Linked DNA regions of Homo sapiens: region 2 is linked to region 1. Evidence: promoter capture Hi-C in human tissues and cell types (Jung and others, 2019). All regions are on one chromosome and are shown on one strand. Each heading gives the region's core, a stretch centred on a gene start or on the middle of the fragment in contact. The rest is flanking DNA. Distances are from core to core; before and after follow the strand shown.

Region 1 (7,840 bases), core at 5,341-7,840:
ATCACTGCACTCCAGCCTGGGCAACAGAGTGGGGACCCTATCTATTAAAAGAAAAAAAAAAAAAAGGAAGTTGGGCGCGGTGGCTCACGCCTGTAATCCCAGCACTTTGGGAGGCTCAGGTGGATCATTTGAGGTCAGGAGTTTGAGAACAGCCTGGCCAACATGGTGAAACCCCATCTCTACTAAAAATACAAAAAATAGCCGGGCATGGTGGCGGGAGGCTGAGGCAGGAGAATCGCTTGAACCCAGGAGGTGGAGGTTACAGTGAGCTGAGATGGTGCCACTGCACTCCAGCCTGGCGACAGAGCGAGACTCTGTCTCAAAAAATAAATAAATAAAAAAGGAAAGGAAGAAAAAGTGACTCTGATAGGATACTTTGACGCTCTATAAAGCACATATGTCCGGGCATGGTGGCTCATGTCTGTAATCCCAGCACTTTGGGAGGCCAAGGTGGGTGGATCACGAGGTCAGGAGTTTGAGACCAGCCTGGCTAAGAGAACAGCCTGGCCAATATGGTGAAACCCCATCTCTACTAAAAATACAAAAACTAGCTGGGCGTGGTGGCAGGTGCCTGTAATCGCAGCTACTCAGGAGGCTGAGGAAGGAGAATTGCTTGAACCTAGGAGGTGGAGGTTGCAGTGAGCCAAGATCACACCATTGCACTCCAGCCTGGGTGACAGAGCAAGACTCTGACTCAAAAACAAACCAACCAAAAAAAACAAAAACAAAAAAACCACATAGAACTGGGTAATTCTGATTATTCTAAGGCTCAGTATCCACAATTAAAGGCCCTCGCAGTCACCGTGAGCGCTTACTGTGCACCGAGCACTTTACACACATTCACGCACTTGAAACTGACCACAATGCTGTCAGACGGGCAGGGGCGTTGCTAGCTCTACTTTGCAAATAGGGACATGTGGGCTCAGAGTGGTCACCAGGACAGCAGCACCCACATTCAAGCCCAGCCCTATCTGTCCCCAAAACCCAGTTTCTGCCCTACCACCCACCTCACCCCCATGCTGCCAGAAACCACCCATCTCCTCTCCCTTGTGGGTGATCTAAAAGTCGTCCCTCAAGAACTGAGCCCTTAGCCAGGCTGGTCTTGAACTCCTGACCTCAAGCAATCCACCCACTTCGGCCTCCCAACGTGTTGGGATTACAGCTGTTAGCCACCGCGCCCAGCCCGTGGTGGTGCACGCCCGTAGTCCCACCTACTCAGGAGGCAGGAGAATTGCTTGAACCTGGGAAGCAGAGGTTGTAGTGAGCTGAGATTGTGCCACTGCACTCCAGCCGGCGCAACAGAGCAAAACTCCATCTCAAAAAAAACAAAACTGAGCCCTTGAAGATGAACGTGAATTCCGAGGGAGTGAGCAGAGTGTGTGGGTTTGGTGCCTTGAGTTGCACAATCTCTCAGGCAGCAGGAATAGATCCAGTCCGTCCTGGTTTCAGGCAAGATGAAGGGAGCTTGTGTCTACAAAGGGCTGGCAGCTCCCATCCAGAGCATGGCTGGGCCTGATAGAGCCACACCTGGAAGCATTTATAACCACACCTGACAGCTCCCTCTGGGGTGGGGCACCCCCAGCTCCCGTCTGGGCCAAGGTGAGCAGGCAGAGGCAGATGAGGGCCCTCCCTGGCTCCTGACCTCACCTCGACTTTATACAGCTGGGGATGGGTGGGGCTGGGAGCACTGGGGAGCAAAAACCTGGGGCTTTCTGATGCTGTCCCATGGGGTGTCAACCAGGAGCTCCCAAATGAGACCCACTGGGCTCATGACAATGACCCAGCCAGGGAGGTGAGGTAGAAGGCAGGGGTCCTGTCTGCCTCCCACCATTGGCTCCCGAGAGCCCCAGGAGTTCAGAGGCCTTTCCAGGAGTGATCTCAGATTCATGGTCCAGCCCCAGCTCTTCCCTGATGGGGAGCAGGTGGGTAAGACAGAAAGGCATCTAGGGCCGGTGGCTCACACCTGTAATCCCAGCACTCTGGGAGGCGAGGCAGGTGGATCACGAGGCCAGGAGATCAAGACCATCCTGACTAACACAGTGAAACCCTGTCTCTACTAAAAAAAAAAAAAAAACAATACAAAAAATTAGCCGGGCGTGGTGGTGGGCGCCTGTAGTCCCAGCTACTCTGGAGGCTGAGGCAGGAGAATGGCGTGAACCCGGGAGGCGGAGCTTGCAGTGAGCCAAGATCGCACCACTGCACTCCAGCCTGGGTGACAGAGTGAGACTCCGTCTCAAAAAAAAAAAGAAAGAAAGAAAGGCATCTAGGTCGGGCGCAGTGGCTCACGCCTGTGATCCCAGTGCTTTGGGAGGCCTAGGCAGAAAGATCTCTTGGGGCCAGGAGTTCAAGACTAGTCTGGGCAACATGGTGCGACACCTGTCTCTACAAAAAATTTAAAAATTAGCCAAGTGTGGTGGCACACATCTGTAGTCCCAGTGACTCAGGAGGCTGAAGCAGAAGAATCACTTGAGCCCAGGAGGTCAAGACTGCAATGAGCTATGATCACTCCACTGCACTCCAGCCTGGGCAACACAGCGAGACTCTGTCTCAACAAAAAAAAAAAAAAAAAAGGAGAGAGAGAAAGGCATTTATGAGCTCTCTCTCAAAAAGGAAACTGAGGCTCAGAGAAGGCATGAGGACTTGCTGCTTCCCCAGCTCATCAAGGTGAGTGGCCTGGAGTCTGCCCCGATTCTGGGCCTGGGCAGGGCAAGACTTCAGTGGCCTTGGCTCCCCATAGAAGTAGGAGGAGTGGAGCCTCAGTCCCAGGATAGGGACAGCAAGTACAGTGGGACAGAAGAAGTGGGAGGCCCTGGGTACTAGAGAGGCAGGAGGTTGGCTCTGAGAGCACTTTACCGGAGACAGCAGAAAGCCATTTAATCTCTGTGCACAGCAGTTTCCTTGTCTAAAAACCAGGGATAACAGGGCCGGGTGCGGTGGCTCACACCTGTAATCCCAGCACTTTGGGAGGCCGAGACAGGTGGCTGACTTGAGGTCAGGAGTTTGAGACCAACATGGCGAAACCCTGTTTCTACTAAAAATACAAAAATTAGCCGGGTGTGGTGGCTCATGCCTGTAATCCCAGCACTTTGGGAGGCCAAGGCAGGCGGCTCACTTGAGGTCAGGAGTTTGAGACCAACATGGCGAAACCCCGTTTCTACTAAAAATACAGAAATTAGCCGGGTATGGTGGCACATGCCTGTAATCCCAGCCACTTGGGAGTCTGAGGCAGGAGGATCGCTTGAACCCAGGAGGCGGAGGTTGCAGTGAGCTGAGATTGCGCCACTGCACTCCAGCCTGAGTGATAGAGTGAGACTCTGGCTCAAAAAAAAAAAAAAAAAAAAGACAAAAAAAAAAAAAACAACAACAACTAAAACAGGGACCTAAGTCAGGGGAGAAGGAAGGCTGGAATGGCCATGCCTACAAAGACAGGAAAGAGGGAATGTCAGGGTTGTGGCAGGAGCCTAGGGCAGCACCCTCCCTCCAAGCTGGGAGATAGGAGCCAGGATCCCATTGGTGTTTAGATGGATGAGGTAGGGTCAAGGGGCAAGCTCCAGGCTCTAAGCACTTCTGTGCAGACTCTACTACTTGGAGCTCCCCTCTCCCTCTGTGATGTGGGCATCAAAATCTGCAGAAAGGGAAACTGAGGCCTAGAGAAAGGAGGGGATTTGCCCAGAATGACACAGGAAGTCCAGACTAATTCAAGTTTGCGGCATTTGAGGTTCCTGGCCAGTGTTTCTTTTTCTTTTTTGTTTTTTCTTTTTTGTTTGAGACAGAGTCTCGTTCTGTCACCGAGGCTGGAGTGCAGTGGCGCGATCTCAGCTCCCCGCAACCTCTGCCTCCTGGAATGATCCTCGTGCCTCAGCTTCCCCAGTAGCCGGGATTACAGGCACCCATCACACCTGGCTAATTTTTTGTATTTTTGGCAGACACGGGGTTTCGGCATGTTGGCCAGGCTGGTCTTGAACTCCTGAACCCAGGCAATAAGTCTGCCTCAGACTCTCAAAGTGCTGGGATTACAGGTGGGAGCCACCACGCCCGGCCAACCAGTGCTTCTTAAGGAAAGATACATATAGTAGGAGATGTGACAGTAATCTTCCTCCTGGCCCCTCTCAGCACTGTGCCATGGAGGTTCTGATCTGGGCCAGCTGCGCTGTTAGGGGAAGGGGGAAAATGGCCAAACCCCATGTATTCTCCTTCCTTTTCCCTCTCTTCAATCCCAGGCAGGTAACAATAATTATGATGTACCAGGCTCCGGGCCAAAGTCATCACCTGCATTAGGTCACCAAATCCTCAGGCCAACCCATTACAGTCATGAGTCACTTAATAACAGACACATTCAACAAATTCCTTGTTAGGCAATTTCATCATTGTGGGAACATCTCAGAGTGGACTTACACAAACCTAGATGGTCTAGCCTACTACACACCTAAGCCATATGGTCTAGCCTACTGCTCCTAGGCTACAAACCTCTACAGCATATGACTGCACCAAATATTGAAGGCAGCTGCAACATGAGGGTAAGTATTAGTGTTTCTAAAGATAGAAGATGGCCAGGCGCGGTGGCTCACGCCTGTAATCCTAGCACTTTGGGAGGCCCAGGCGGGTGGATTACTTGAGGTCAGGAGTTCAAGACCAGCCTGGCGAACATGGTGAAACCCCATCTGTACTAAAAATACAAAAATTAGCCAGTGTCGCGGCACTTGCCTGTAGTCCCAGCTACTCAGGAGGCTGAGGCAGAAGAATCACTTGAACCTGGGAGGTAGAGGTTGGAGTGAGCCTAGATCAGGCCACTGCACTCCAGCCTGGGCGACAGAGGGAGACTCCATCTCAAAATAAATAAATAAATAAATAAATAAAACATAGAAGATGTACAGTAAAAACACGGTAATTGTTTTTGTTTGTTTGTTTTGAGACAGGGTCTTGTTCTGTCATGCGGACTGGAGTGCAGTGGCACCATCAGGCTCACTGCAGCCTCGACCTCCTTGGCTCAAGTGCTCCTCCCACCTCAGCCTCCTGAGTATCTGGGACTACAGGTCCACGCCACCATGCCTGGCTAATTTGTTCTGAATTTTAGTAGAGATGGGGTCTCACTGTGTTGCCCAGGCTTGTTCCAGCCTTCTGGCTTCAAGTAATCCTCCCACATCAGCCTCCCAAAGTGCTAAGATTACAGATGTCAGCCACTGCACCCAGCCAGTAATATAATTTTATGGGACCACCTTCATATTTGCTGTCCCTTGCTGACTTACACATCTTTATGCAATGCATGACTGTTACCATCATTATCATCTCTATTTTCCAGATGGGGAAACTGAGGCACAAAGAATCTAACTTGCACAAGTTCATCTGCTTAGTGATGGAACAAAGATGTGAATTCAGGCAGTCTGGCTTCAAAGTCCACACGCCTAACAACCACACCAGATTACTAGATTGCTTTTTTCTTTTTTCTTTTTTTTTTTTTGAGATGGAGTCTCACTCTGTCACCCAGGCTGGAGTACAGTGGTGAGATCTCGGCTCACTGCAACCTCTGCCTTCTGGGTTCAAGCAATTCTCCTGCCTCAGCCTCCCCAGCAGCTGCGATTACAGGCGCCCGCCACCACACCCAGCTAATTTTTGTATTTTTAGTAGAGATGGGGTTTCACCATGTTGGCCAGGCTGGTCTCAAACTCCTGACCTCTGGTGATCCTCCCACCTCGGTCTCCCAAAGTGCTGGGATTACAGGCGTGAGCCACCACGCCCAGCCCAGACTGCTTTATTTTTGTATTTGTATTTATTCATTTACTTATTTTGAGACAGGGTTTTGCTCTGTAGCCCAGGCTGAAGTGCAGTGGTGCAATCCAGCTCACCACAGCCTCTACTCACCGGGGTTCAAAGGATCCTCCTGCTTCAGCCTCTGGAGTAGCTGGGGCCACAGGCATGCACCACCATGCCCAGCTAATTTTTAAATATTTTTTGGTAGAAGTAGGGTCTCACTATGTTGCCCAGACTGGTCTCAAACTCCTAGCCTCAAGGGACCCTTCTGCCTTGGCCTCCCAAAGTGCTGAGATTACAGGCATGAGCCATGCACCCAGCCCCTTTTTAAAATTTTTTTGAGAGACAAGACTTTGATCTGTTGCCTAGGCTGGAGTGCAGTGGTGAGATCATAGCTCACTGCAGCCTCAACTCCTGGGCTCAAGCACCAGACTCCTTTTATCACATTCTATCTCACACGCGTGTGGTTCCAATCCTGCCTCTGCCACTTCTCAGTTGTATGCCCCAACCCAACCTGTCTGGCTCTGTCCTCCTTAACAGAAGGACGGCCCTGGCCACGGGCCACAGCCAGCAACGCTTAAGCACCAGGGCCGGCGAGTGCCCTGCCGTGGCACGGCTCCAGCGTCGCGCTCTCGAATTCATTTGCTTTCCTTAACGAGAGAAGGTTCCAGATGAGGGCTGAACCCTCTTCGCCCCGCCCACGGCCCCTGAACGCTGGGGGAGGAGTGCATGGGGAGGGGCGGCCCTCAAACGGGTCATTGCCATTAATAGAGACCTCAAACACCGCCTGCTAAAAATACCCGACTGGAGGAGCATAAAAGCGCAGCCGAGCCCAGCGCCCCGCACTTTTCTGAGCAGACGTCCAGAGCAGAGTCAGCCAGCATGACCGAGCGCCGCGTCCCCTTCTCGCTCCTGCGGGGCCCCAGCTGGGACCCCTTCCGCGACTGGTACCCGCATAGCCGCCTCTTCGACCAGGCCTTCGGGCTGCCCCGGCTGCCGGAGGAGTGGTCGCAGTGGTTAGGCGGCAGCAGCTGGCCAGGCTACGTGCGCCCCCTGCCCCCCGCCGCCATCGAGAGCCCCGCAGTGGCCGCGCCCGCCTACAGCCGCGCGCTCAGCCGGCAACTCAGCAGCGGGGTCTCGGAGATCCGGCACACTGCGGACCGCTGGCGCGTGTCCCTGGATGTCAACCACTTCGCCCCGGACGAGCTGACGGTCAAGACCAAGGATGGCGTGGTGGAGATCACCGGTGAGCCCCCCTGCTCCTGCAGGGGAGAGGAGGAGGCTAGCAGGGCGGGCAGGGCCGGGGGCGTGCGGTTGAAACGGGGGTCCCGGGGGCCTGGGGAGTTAAACGTTGGCCCAGCACCGGGAAAAACAGGACTCCTGATTCCCTTGCTCAGGAATTGGGAGTGCGGGTCGCTTCTAAGGGCGCTTTCTGCTCTGTAATCCCAGCGCTTTGGGAGGCCGAGACGGGAGGATCGCTTGAGGCCAGGAGTTCAAGACTAGCCTGGGCAACATAGCGAGACGCGCCCCCCCGCCCCGACCCCGCGCCATTACAAAAAAAAAGCAAACAAAAATTTTTTTAAAGATCATCGATGAAGAGAGAAAATGCGCTTTTCTACAGAGTCCCCTTCCCACCCACAGCCCCATCCCCAGATAAGCGGGGAGTTCCCTGGCGCGGTGCCAGTTTCTAGCCGCTGAGTGGGCGTGTGCGCGGCTCCAAGTGCGCCTGCGTACTGCTCACTCCCCAGCTCCGCGCCCTGCTCCGTTCCTCCCAAAACTCTGAATCGAAGAACTTTCCGGAAGTTTCTGAGAGCCCAGACCGGCGGGCACGCCCCCATCCCCAACCCCCTCTGTTAATCCCTACCAGCCTGCAGTCCTGGCTGCTTCCAAGCAGGAGGTGGGGCCTCTGGCCTAGCGGGGCCGAAAGGCAGTCCCCTCCCCCGCAGTCTGATTTCCCTCTTCCCCCCAAAGGCAAGCACGAGGAGCGGCAGGACGAGCATGGCTACATCTCCCGGTGCTTCACGCGGAAATACACGTGAGTCCTGGCGCCAGGTCGGGGTGGGTGGGTGGCGTGGGGGTGGGGTCAGGGAAG
Region 2 (7,840 bases), core at 2,401-4,900, 1.1 Mb after region 1:
CGCCTGTAATCCCAGCACTTTGGAAGGCCGAGGCAGGTGGATCACGAGGTCAGGAGTTCAAGACCAGCCTGGCCAAGATGGTGAAACATCGCCTCTACTGAAACTACAAAATAATTAGCTAGGCATGGTGGCGTGCGCCTGTAATCCCAGCTACTTGGGAGGCTGAGGCAGAGGTGGAGGTTGCAGTGGGAACCTTGAACCCCGGAGGCGGAAGTTACAGTGAGCTGAAATTGCACCACTGCACTCCAGCCTGGGAGACAGAACAAGATTCCATCTCAAAAAAAAAAAGAAACTATTAATAATCTAGTGTCCCTTATAAAAGACACTGAGGTAAGCCTAAGCACAGAGCTCACTCTTTCTGAGCCTCAGTTTCATTATCTGTAAAATGGAGATAATATCACCAATCAGAATTGCTGTAGGGAGCAAGATAACAAGTAAAATACTTAACATACACTATTCATTAAATAAATAGTAGCTCATTATTTATAAACATATCTTTCTTACATAGAAGTGTCTGGGGTTCATGGAAATTTTCAAAAAATTATTCTTTAATATATTAATCAATATAAGCCCATTTTAATAGGGTGACAGTCCAGGGAAATTGCACGTAATAGCAAAAAATATATTACTCAAAACAATATTGTTGTCATAAAAATTACCTGTACAGCAGTTTTAAACTGGGCTATGATTTTGTGCCTATAAAATATGCTTAAGAAGGAAAGACAACATGTTTAAGATAGCCTATTTTTACAAAGCTTATATTTCTGGCCTCTCCACACGCTAAAGACCACAGATTAAATCTTGCCTGCCCTTTGCAAGTCATTCCCAGGGGTAAAAAAAGGAAGGATACCTTTGCCCTCACAAAGTGCTGTTTTCATAGTGGAAAGTTTCCCACATCACTCTTGAGATGGGATGCTGATAAAGCATTGCTGATAAGAATCAAGTCCCAGACCCAGGAAACCTTCTATAATATTTCTCTCTCTTATCACAGGAAGCAGTAGAACCAGGCTTCCCTAAGGCAATTTCCCACAAATTCAGAGATCATGTTAAAATTTGCCCATACTGGCCCACTCAGCGTAAGTATCCAACCTCATCAATGGTATCATTCAAAATAAAAATAACTTTGCTCAGTTTCCTCACATTGCACTCTCTCAAACATGCATCATGACAGTGGATGGACTGTGGAATAGGGATGGAAAAAGATATCAAAGAATTACATGCTCTAAACCTGAAACTCCTTTTTTAAAGGAAATGTTCCATATGCCATGTTCCATATGTAAGCAAGTAAATCATTACTTAGTCTTGTGCTAAACTTTGTGCCCCACATCCTAACTGGCATGGAAAAGCAGCTTTCAGTGGGGAGGTACAACAAACCCTTTCTTTATTTTCCTCATTATACTCAGGTTCCCTTCGCCATATTTACTCAATGAAAACAACTCAAGCTGATCCATAAATCATTAATGGGACTTGGAAACTTTTCAAGATTAGCAACAGGAAATAGACAATTTCCCAGAGGCCCCATCCTCTCTATAATCAAGGGATAACATGATGTATTATTTCTCATGGGCTATTTGGGAACATCTCATACAAGTTATCATTTTTATGTTAACAAATAGCTTTTTAGGCTGCTACCAAAAAACATAAGAAAGCTCACAGCCTAGGTTCTCTAAAAAGGGAAGATACAACCCCCAACCCTTTTCAAGCCAAAGGCTAAGGAGTTGAGAGGCAAGGGTGTGTTCCAGAGAAAATCTTCTCTCATCAGATTTCAAGTGGGTCATTGATTGTCATCACAATCCGAGTCTCAAAGAGGCATGAGAAATGGGATAGTATAGAAGGCTGAGGTATACCATGCCTAGGAACAAGTGTTCAGAGCAGGGGGTGTGATCTCTCCATCACTCACCAAGGTTGAGAAAAGTAATGCCCTTTGTCATGTGTGACCCAACATTCTCAAGAGAAGTGGTGAAGGTCTTGCTGTGTCCTGCAAAGAGAGAATATGAAGCCAGAGAATGTTAAACAAAGAACTGGAACTCCACCCAAGGCAGTGACTATGTAACACACTATATTTTCAGTGACCATGAAACTGGTAAGCAGGCATCTTCAGACTTCTAGATTTCATGGTTCCCCTCATTCTCCAAAAACCAGCATTGAAGGCAGATTATCTGAGTGCAGTCACACTCCAGTAGTTGCTCTGGGCTTATTATAATCTTAGACCATGACAGGTGGATTGTTCAGGGAGGAGAGGATCTGAAGGAATTTACTTAAAGATCCAAGAGATAGAGATGACCACATGGCTCATTGGCCCACATTCCTCAAGGCTCACCGCCACACACGTGCAGTCATTAAGACCCTCTGAGACTTCTCCAAATCACTTACAAATCCCACTTTTAGGTAGGAAGGGAATTAGTCGAGCTAATAACCTCAGTATATTGGCCTTTCCTCTCTACTTTCTAACTCTTAATCTTCAGAAAAGTTTTATTTACTGCCTTTGATCAATAGATTAACCATTAGAAAAATGTGTGAAAAATTTTCCACAAAAATCTCAAACTTATACAACTTAAGTATGAATAGAATATATGTCTAGTTCTGAAGTTACTTTAGCTTCTCCATTAAGTTCTTAAACTTTTTTACCTTAATCTCTAACCTGAGGAGGTAATATCAGGTCCATCTATAGAATAAGCAGCTCTGGTGTGGCTTGGCATAATTGTTTTTAAATATTGGAAAAATCTTTATCTTTAAAAAAATTTAAATACACCCATAGTATATACTGCACAAATACTCATTTTAAGGAATTAAACAAGCAAAACAATAACTCCTTAGCATGGTTCAAACTAAAACTACTACAGGGCACACTGTGATTGACTACAGAACCAGGAGAAATTAGTTAGGCATTTGACTGCTTCTCCCTAGATTGTTTATCAATATCTTGGGCCATAGATGTGTGAAATGGAATAAATGTATCTTAGATCTAAAACCTGTTGAGGTCTGAGATCATGGATGCTTTTAACTGAAACCCTATTTAACTCTGTAAGTTAAATCTATAGATACTTTCCAAATAGCGATAACTAAAAAGCAAATAAACACACTTTGGATAAATACCTTCCTTAGGATTGGTCCACAAGCCTAGAAAAATATATAGGCCAGGATAAAAATATATGATATATAAAAATAACTAGCTAACTTGATACTCACCATTGACAACTTTCTTCAGGAAATATATATCCTGTAAGTATACAGATATAGAATGAACTGATAAAAATTGATTCCATGGTAATAATACTCTCAGCCGGGCATGGTGGCTCATGCCTATAATCCCCACACTTTGGTAAGCTGAGGCGGGTGGATCACTTGAGCTCAGAAGTTCAAGACCACCCTGGGCAACATGGTGAAACCCCATCTCCACAAAAAATACAAAAATTAGCTAGGCATGATGGCACACGCCTGTAGTCCCAGCTACTTGGTGGGCTGAGGAGGGAGGATCACTTGAGACCATAAGGTTGAGGCTTCAGTGAGCAGTATTCATGCCACCGCATTCCAGCCTGGGTGACAAAGGGAGACCCTGTCTCCAAAAAATTACTAATAACACTGTTAAGAGCTATCTAATTTGCTACTATTTGGAAAAAGTTATTATGTAAAAGTAACAAAGAAGACATGAAAAGTACCTTTATGAATGTAAAACACTGAATATGTGATTTGTCCCCAAGAGGCACACTTCGGGCTGTAACATACACACAAACTTCCTAGAAGAAAAAGGATATTTAGTAGAGTTTAACAGAATCTATGTCATAAATAAAGTTTCCTAAACCACTTAAACTTACTTCTATTCCTTTAGATGTCCTGTCTCATCTTACCTCATAGATTATTCCCAAGTCCTAGAAGTGGTCTATTAACAAGTTGCTAAGAAATTTCAAAGCAGTAATTTTTTAGTGCACACTATATAGCAACATATTGTGGCAGGCTATTGAAGGATAGGAAAATGAACACAGATATACTCCTGCATATGAAATAATGGGGTTCTAGACAGTTTCCAAAGCTTCATGAGATTCTCCTAGTAAGCATGCATTGTCCTCCCTTATCTAGCTTGTCACCTTGCAATTATTACTAACAGCTGTGAACACCAGTTTATCAAAAATGTGTTCATTTCACAGAAAGTTACCAGTCTCTAGTTTATCTTGATTGAAAGGCAAAGTGTGATCTATCTTATGGGTCAGTGAAAACAAATGTGGCATGTGAGTCCATATCCATCCGTAACTGAGTCACTGAAGGCATTGGCCCAAGGCCAAAGGAGAGCTCTTGGCATAGAGTGGCCTTTCCAGGTGAGTCTTGACCCCCTTCACTTACCCCATCACTCCAGAACACCCTCAACTTTCCCCACCTCTCTCAACGCATGAAACTGTACATTATCTCTAGCAGCTGCTGCTGTATGGACTAATGTCCATCAGTGACCTACATACAATTGAGGACAGTATGCTTAAACAGGTATGTCTATCATTTATGTGATTAACTGAAATAGGAGATTGACAGGTAGAAAGTAACTTGACAAGGAGTCAGGAAACCTGAGTTCTAGCCCCAGAGCTAACGTTAACTAGCTGTGTGAATTCAATCGCTACTCTACTTCAGTGGATTTCAATGTTTCCTCTACTTTCCTTCATTAGTTTCTTTATCAAAGAATCGTGGTAGAAAAAAAGTCAGTTTCCCCTAAGAGGGCTATTCAAGGACATTTATAAGTATTCTGTTATAATATTTATCAATTATGACTTTTTAATGACATTTAACACTGCAAAGTATTGTCAGCAGTACATTTTATTGCAATTATCTTAAACACAAAATAGCAAAAAAGAATAACTTCATCAGATAACATGGTAACAATTCTATTAGATGTAAAATGACTGTTACGGTTACTGAGCACACAATAACAACTTTTCTTTACAATTACAGCTGACTCATGACTCACTGAGAATAAAAGTAATCTATCACTAAAGTATAAACAAAATAATAATTATAAGAGTTACAAAAGTCTCATATACCACTTGGACTGCTTTCATACAGTAAACATTATCAGCAAAAAACTACTTGTTTATCCATTCTTTTATATACTATAATCACAAGGAACATGAAATTGCTTAAAAAAAAGACTTTAGATTCTCTAGTAATAAATAAAAATTAAAACAAGGTACCATAATTTTCCTTTAGAAGTAGTTTTTTAAATGATAATGAAATACTGTCAAGGGAGCATGTGCTTCTTACACAATTCTCAAATAGTAGTGAATGAGTCAACTAACACAATATCTCAGAAAAATTCTTTCACAGAGGGTTAAATATATTCATACCTGTTCACCCAGTAATTCTTTTAGGATTCTATCCTGGGAAATGAACATGATGGCAACATAGATCATAACCTCCATTCTAGCAAACTATCTGCACTCCATCCTTTAGAGAATGAAAGTTTTTCTCATTTTGAAAAAAAGTAAGATGTACATTCTCAGTAAACTATCACAAGAACAAAAAACCAAACACCGCATATTCTCACTCATAGGTGGAAACTGAACAATGAGAACACATGGACACAGGAAGGGGAACATCACACTCTGGGGACTGTAGTGGGGTGGGGGGAGGGGGGAGGGATAGCATTAGGAGATATACCTAATGCTAAATGACAAGTTAATGGGTGCAGCACACCAGCATGGCACATTTATACACATGTAACTAACCTGCACATTGTGCACATGTACCCTAAAACTTAAAGTGTAATAATAAAATAAAATGAGATGTAGAATAAATGTACCTAATTACATATTCTAAGAACCATATCCAGAACTTATAAGCAAATATTTCCAAATTGTTAGGTCATGCTTAGTTGCCCCACCCAATCCCAAAGGGAAAAAAAGACACAGCAAGTTGAAATGGTATGTACACAGGCTCTGTGAAGCTATCCAACAGAACTGTCTTTGACAATGGAAATGTTATATACCTGTATAGTCCAATATGGTGGCAACTAGCCACATGTAGTCACTGAACACTCAAAATGTGGATAATATGACTGAAGCACTATTTATCTGAGACAAAGTCTCACTCTGTTGCCCAGGCTGGAGTGCAGTGGTGCAAACATGGCTCACTGTAGCCTTAACCTCCCAGGCTCAAACAATCCTCCCACTTCAGCCTTCCAAATAGCTAGGACTACATGTGTGCCTGGCTAATTATTTTATTTTTTTTAAGAGATGGAGTCTATGTTACCCAGGGTGGTCTTGAACTCCCTGGGCTCATGTGATCTTCCTACTTTGGCCTCCCAAAGAGCTGGGACTACAGGAATTTTTTTTAACTTCTATTTTCAGTTCAGGGGTACATGTGAAGGTTTGTTATATAGGTAAACTCATATCACAGGGGTTTATTTTTACAGATAATTTCATCACCCAGCTATTAAGCCTGGTACTCAATAGTTACTTTTTCTGCTCCGCTCCCTCCTCCCACCCTCCACTCTCAAGAAGACCCCAGTGTCTGTTGTTCCCTTGTGTTCAGGAGTTCTCATCATTTAGCTCCTACCTGTAAGTGAGAACACTAGGTATTTCGTTTTACTGTTCCTGCGTTAGTTTGCTAAGGATAATAGCCTCTATCTCCATCCATGTTCCCACAAAAGACATGATCTCATTCTTTTTTATAGCTGCACAGTATTCCACGGTATGTATGTACCACATTTTCTTTATCCAATCTGTCACTGATGGGCATTTAGGTTGATTCCATGTCTTTGCTAACATGAATCACGCTGCAATTGACATTTGCATACGTATATCTTTATGGTAGAATGATTTTTATTCCTCTAAGTATATACCCAGTAATCAGATTGCTGGGTCCAATAGTAGTTCTGCTGTTAGCCTTTGAGTAATCACCATACTGCTTTCCACAATGGTAGAACTAACTTACACTCTCATCAACAGTGTATAAGTCTTCCCTTTTCTCTGCAACCTTGCCAGCAACTGTGGGTTTTTTTTTTTTTTTTTTTTTTTTACTTTTAATAATAGCCATTCTGACTGGTATGAGATGGTATCTCATTGTAACCTCTATCTGCATTTCTCTAATCCTCAGTGATACTGAGTTTTTCACATGCTTGCTGGCCACATGTCTTCTTTTGTAAAGTATCTGTTCATGTCCTTTGCCCACTTTTTAATGGAGTTGTTTTTGTCTTATAAATTTAAGTACCTTGTAGATGCTGGATACTAGGCCTTTGTCAGATGCATAGTTTGCAAATATTTTCTCCCAATTCTGTAGGTCGTTTGGTTTACTCTGTTAGTTTCTTTTGCTGTGCAGAAGCTCTTAAGTTTAATTCGATCCCATTTGTCAATTTTTGCTTCTTTTGTGATTACTTTTGATGTCTTTGTTATGAAATATTTGCCCATTCCTATGACTAGGATGGTATTGCCTACGTTTTCTTTCAGAATTTTTATAAATTTTGGGTTTTACATTTAAGTCTTTAATGCATCTTGAGTTGATTTTTGTCTATGTTGTAAGGAAGGGTTCCAGTTTCAATTTCTATATATGGCTAGCCAGTTATCCCAACACCATTTATTGAGTAGGGAGTCTTTTCCCCATTGCTTTTGTCAGCTTTGCTGAAGATCAGGTAGTCATAGGTGTGCAGCCTTATTTCTGGGTTCGCTATTCCATTCTATTGGTCTATGTGCCTGTTTTGGTAACAGTACCATACTGTTTTGGTTACTGTAGCCCTGTAGTATAGTTTGAAGTTGGGTAACATGATATCTCCAGCTTTGTTCTTTTTGCTTAGGTGTACCTTGGCTACTCAGGCTTTTTTGGTTCCATATGAATTTTAAGACAGTTTTTTCTAGTTCTGTGA

Evidence for each region. Contacts are between HindIII fragments. The study calls those that stand out against the background at their distance.
Region 2: a contact is called between a fragment that was not itself captured here and the fragment with the promoter of HSPB1 in region 1, in 1 of the 25 tissues and cell types used here (spleen).

Annotation. Positions count from the first base shown.
Region 1 is chr7:76,296,083-76,303,922 of GRCh38, forward strand. HSPB1 (heat shock protein family B (small) member 1) reads left to right here and starts at 6,591. Exons shown (of 3, transcript NM_001540.5): 1 at 6,591-6,994; 2 at 7,720-7,783. The coding sequence starts at 6,631. RefSeq lists a silencer at 3,330-3,624. The HindIII fragment of the contact is 16,042 bases long and covers 1-7,840 here.
Region 2 is chr7:77,358,924-77,366,763 of GRCh38, forward strand. GSAP (gamma-secretase activating protein) reads right to left here. Exons shown (of 31, transcript NM_017439.4): 13 at 3,660-3,737; 14 at 1,901-1,978. Among named protein-coding and RNA genes, the nearest start is that of GSAP, 54 kb to the right of the region's middle. The HindIII fragment of the contact is 7,746 bases long and covers 1-7,523 here.